2 separate regions of the Homo sapiens genome follow, and region 1 is linked to region 2. The links are contacts of gene promoters, found by promoter capture Hi-C in human tissues and cell types (Jung and others, 2019). All regions are on one chromosome and are shown on one strand. The core of a region is centred on a gene start or on the middle of the fragment in contact, and the rest is flanking DNA. Distances in the headings are between cores, read along the strand shown.

Region 1 (2,700 bases), core at 168-2,667, 49 kb after region 2:
CAATAGGTAAATGGTTAAACAAGTTGTCCATACCATGGAATACTACTCAGCAATAAAAAGGATAGAACGATTGATGCATACAACCTAGATCAATTTCCAGATAATTATGTGAAATGACAAAAGCCAATCCCAAAAGGTTACGTACTGTTTGTATGTAGCCTTTTATATAATATTCTCAAAAATGTCAAAATTGTCGAAATATGCATATCAGTGGCTGCTATGGATTAAGAGGGCAGGGGCAGAAGGAAAAGTGGATTGGCTACACCAGAACATAAGCAACAAGGTATATAAGGGACCCTTGTAGTGATGGAAATGTTCCGTATCTTGATGGTGTATCAATAACCCAGTTGTGATATTGTACTATAGTTTTGCAGCATGTTAACATGGGCGAAATAGGTGAAAGACTACACAGGATCTCCATTATTTCTTACAACTGCATGTGAATCTACAATAACCTAAGAAAGTTTTCTTTTTTTAAAAATGTACATAAAAGAAAAAACATTTGATCTTGAATGATACCTACAAATTGAACACTTCTTTATTAAATAAATAAAACATGTTTAGAATCTTTTACCCAAACAAGCACACACACAATAAAATAACTTACAATATTCACTTCTTTGGGTGGTGAATTACTTTCAGCACTTGGTGGTGACACTGAGTTTCCTGGGGAGGAAAAACACAATTTCAAATAAAAGCCAAATAATACTTTTTATTGCTAATAATGAAAAATAGTGTAATTAGGTGATATTCAAGTAACAGGGCTATACCACAATGACCTTATAGCTACACCAGAACATAAGCAACATCCTACTTTTCCCAACAGAAAATAAGGACTTAGCTGGGCACAGTGGCTCACCCCTATAATCCCAGCACTTTGGGAGGCCAAGGCAGGTGGATCACTTGAGGTCAGCAGTTCAAGACCAGCCTGACCAACATGGTGAAACCCCGTCTCTACTAAAAATACAAAAATTAGCTGGGCATGGTGGTGCACTCTTGTAATCCCAATTACTCAGGAGGCTGAGGTAGGAGAACCACTTGAACCTGGGAGGCGGAGGTTTCAGTGAGCTGAGATAGCGCCACTGCATTCCAGCCCGGACAACAGAGTGAGACTCCGTCTTGAAAAAAAGTAAAAATATAAATAAAAGGACTTGTTCAAAATTTTCTTGACTAGTGCTCCTCTCATTGTGAACTTTTCTCCATTCACTAAGGCAGCAGTTCTCAAATTTTCTGGTTTCAGAAACCCTCTGCACTTTTAAAAGCTGAGGACCCTACACAGCTTTTGTTTACATGGCTTATTTCAATCAATATTTACTGTATTAGAAATTAAAACTAAATTTAAACATCCATTTAAAAATAAATGCATTACATGCTGATAATTTTTAAAAACTATATTTTTCAAAACAAAATATAGAAGAATTACACATTTTTGCATATCATTAATGATTGGCTTAACAGAAGACAGCTGGATTCATATACAGCTTTTGCCTTCAACTCAGTGAAATGTTGCTTCTGGTTTTGGTATCTGAAAAAAAAAGTTTGGCCTCCCGGAGACAGGTATTTGCAACGAGGAGGAATACTTAATGTTCTCCTCTGTTAAAGGCAAATAATAGAAGGATATTTGCCTTTAATAGTACACCAAAACAAGTGGCATAGGGTTAGAAGCAATGTGAACTCTAAAACCACATCAAGGAACTTTTCATATTGTTACGTTAGAATTCACTGATTATCCCGCACTTTGGATTCCTGCGCATGCATGACTGCAATACCACGCATTGGTCATTTGGAAAAGACAGGTTCATTGAGTTATATGCAGCATTTCCAATTGTTGACACATTTCATTATGCAATAGCAAAAATTCATGTGTTAGGGCCTGGTGCGGTGGTTCATGCCCGTAATCCCAGGGTTTTGGGAGGCTGAGGCAGGAGGATCGTTTGTGCCCAGGGGTTTGAGGCCGTAGTAAGCCATGATTGTGCCATTGCACTTCAGCTTGGGTGACAGAGTGAGACTGTCTCCAAATAAAAATATTAATATTCATGTGTTAATATCATCATGCATCTCACCAGAAAAGTCTGTCTTGGGAAGTCCTTAAGCTCAAAGTGGCAGACACAAGTTTCCTAAAACCCGAAATTGCTTGAAAGCTTGAACTCTGTCACTGACAAAATATGTCAGCTGTTTTCCTTGAAGTAAAGGGCTCACTTTGTTAATTTTTGAGAAAATGCTTGCCAGGTAAGTCTGAATAACCAGTGTCCATCTTTTCAAGTAAAAAGTATGTTCCAAGAAGAGAGTTTCTCTTCAGCTTACAACTCAATTGCACACATGGTTTTCCTACTTCAGAAGGTAAAAGTCAGGAGTAATTCCCATTTCATTACACAAATACTAAAAATACTGCACACAATGATCAAGATTTAACAGAATACTTTTTACTGCTCAATCAAGTGCATTTTTAACTGAAGTTGGCATTTCTGGTTTTCCTTTTAAGTGCATGACGATGAAAAACTCAGGTTGGCGCTCCTGCCTTAAGCTGAGCTAATAATTTGCTTTTGCACCATTAGTATAAAGTTGGCATAGCAGAAAAGACAAATACTGTGAGGAAAACAGTTTTGACCTCCTGGGGAAGCCCAGAGGCCCAAGCGCACATTCTGAGAATTATATCACCATGTTAGAAGACCACAACTCATATACCTTCAAAGAGGCTAA
Region 2 (2,700 bases), core at 66-2,565:
CACTTAGAGGTTCTGGGGTTTTACTTAAAGCAGCTTGTAATTTGAAAAATGTACACGTTCTAATTATTCCAATCTCCAAGACATCAAACACATGGCATGAGGTCCCCATTGCTAAGTCCCCTTTCAGCTTCAGCTGGAGCCCTTGATTCCACAATCACAAGCAGCAAGGTGCCCTCCTCCCTTCTCTTCTGTCTGGTGCCCCCAGCAAGTTTTCAAGGTTCAATTCTGAGACTCTCCCATTCACCGTCCCAGCAGGTGGCCAAGGGCCCAAGGCGGGAGGGAAAGGTCGGCTTAGCTAGGGAAAGTTTTGTTAGCCTTATTGGAAGGGAAGGAGACATGCAGGAAGCAGGGCTGAGCCAGGTGGGGGAAGTCACCAGAACGACAAACCCCTGGACTTCCCACTGCCCAAGCGCGAGGACTCTCGGGGCAGCCGGCCCCTCTCAGGTTCTGCTTGCAGACACTTCGCTGGGGGCACTCGTTCTGCCTGGGAAAACTGCCCCAAGTCCCCTTAACACCTGTGTATGTCCTGTAGTGGGGTGTGGGGTGGAAGCGAGCATGTCACCAAAGCCTTTATTCAAAGGGCGAGTCCCTTTCCGCGGCCGCCAGGGAAGGGGGCCCCGCTACTGTGCCAGGAGGGCAGCTTGGGTTTAATACATGCCCTCCTCCACCCCTGTACCCGGAGCCCCTACCCACTTACCTGCTGACCGCACCCCTCCCAAAACCCCGCCAGCTCGCCCGGGACGGACCGCGAGTGGCCACGAGGGAGGCGCGCGCCAGGTGCGCTCTTCCCCCGACGCCGCCGTGCCAGGAAGGCCGCGCTCAGGTGCGCGCAGACAATGCGAACAAAGCCCGCACCCTCGGCGGGGCCGCGCAGCCCGGGTGCTCTGGGTAGGGGTGGCTGGGCAGAGGGGGCCCCAGTACCGGGAGCGTGAATCGGTCATCGGCAGCCGGCACTGGCGGGTACCCGGGCGCCAGAGCCAACTCGGGGCTGGGACTCACCGGAAGGAGAGCGGCGACCAGCGCTCGGTGCCCGGGCGGCTCTACTCACAGACCCGGGCGCGGCTCGGGCCAGGGGGCGCTACGGGATCACAGGAGGGGCGCCCGGGGCGCGGCTGCCACGTGGGACACCTGTTTGTCTCTCCTGGGAGAGGGCGGCACGACCCGACCCGGCTGAGGTCGGAGGAACTACCGCCAGGGAGGTGCATAGAGCCCCTCGCGTTTTTTAAAGCGGCATCGGCCCAGGTCTGCAAATAAAAAAGTACTTCACTTCTACGCGGGTCACCCAGCCTCCGAGCGGTGCAGCCGCGAACACTGTGCCGTCAGCTGACTCCTCCACGGGCTTTATAGCTCCTTGAAAAAATGTTGACTTTGGCATCTTTTCTATTTGTCATGGCAATTGCCTTTTAATTACCTGTCCCTCCTATTGTTGCAGTTGGGTAATAAGCCGACCTTTTGGCCATCATCCTTGCTTAAGATTGGAGGGCGTTTGATTTTTAAAAAATCAAATGCCACAAAGCACAATGCTGAGCATGATGCTTTATATAAAGTAAGCTCTCAATGAACGTTGACTATGACTGCACAATCCATAATTTCCATACTTCATTTAAAAACTGCCAGAGCATGCCTGTTCATTGCAAAAAAAAAAAAAAGAAAAGAAATAACAGTAAAAAAGTTGATAAATCAATCATTTTCCAACACCCAGAGATAATCAGTTAACATTGTGGTGTATGTTCTTCCAATGTCATTCTACCTATGCAAAAATTTATATATTTTTAGTTCATTCCATACAAGCTGTACATTACTCAGGTTTTCCATTTCCTTTTTTTGAATGTCCGTTTTAAGCCACTTCATAATGTCCTAATGTACTTAACCTATCTGCTATTGTTGAATATTAAACTTTCCATTTTAATAATACAATTAGATGTCTTTGTGCTTTTGTCCAATTAATTCCTTAGAATAAACTACGAAAAGGTAAATTTCTAGGATACAGGTTTTATACAACTTAAGACTTTTGATGCCTATTATCTAATTGTCCTCAAGGAAGGTTGACCTGCTTCCTCTTTTCCATGCTCCTTCCCATTATTCTTGTAAATGTCAATCTGATAGGAAAATAATTTGCTTTACACCTTTCCTGTCTGTAGTTCTCAGTTAATTTCCAAACCTCCGACACTGACAGCTTCCAGTGAAAGTGGCCCGTGGTGACTTTAATGTTGCAAACCTCATTGAAGGAGGCTAGGAAAGGACTCATTTTTCCTGTAATTCATTTCTCCCAGTAACATTTACTGAGCACCCAAAAATAAAAACAGGGCCACACCAGAGCAGCAGACATAATGTACCACCACATCATCCCCACAGGGGACAGCAGTTAGTCTTGAGGTCTAACTGCTGGGGAGGGATGGTCTCTGCCTCTAGATCAGCATTGCCCCAGAGAAATACTGACCAAGCCACGTGTGTAATTTTAAATGTTCTAGTGGTCACATTTAATAAAAAGTGAAAAGAAACAGCAAGCTGGATTTCAGTATTAACCTAAACATCCGGAACATTATCTCAACATGTAATCAATAAAGATGTTTTATGCTGTCTTCAAAGTCCTGTTTTTTTGTTTTTTTTTTTTTTTTTTTTGTTTGAGACAGAGTCTCACTCTGTTGCCCAGGCTGGAGTGCAATGGCATGATCTTGGCTCACTGCAACCTCTGCCTCC

The links. The method cuts DNA at HindIII sites, captures the fragments that hold promoters and counts their contacts. A contact is called where the count stands out against the background at its distance.
Region 1: a fragment that was not itself captured here is called in contact with the fragment with the promoter of VWA2 in region 2 in 1 of the 25 tissues and cell types used here (H1 embryonic stem cells).

What each region holds. Positions count from the first base shown.
Region 1 is chr10:114,188,927-114,191,626 of GRCh38, reverse strand. TDRD1 (tudor domain containing 1) reads right to left here. Exons shown (of 25, transcript NM_001395205.1): 3 at 608-666. Among named protein-coding and RNA genes, the nearest start is that of TDRD1, 11 kb to the right of the region's middle. The HindIII fragment of the contact is 5,775 bases long and covers 1-2,700 here.
Region 2 is chr10:114,237,869-114,240,568 of GRCh38, reverse strand. It overlaps VWA2 (von Willebrand factor A domain containing 2), which reads right to left and starts at 1,315. Exons shown (of 14, transcript NM_001272046.2): 1 at 1,000-1,315. RefSeq lists an enhancer at 696-1,404. The HindIII fragment of the contact is 6,749 bases long and covers 1-2,700 here.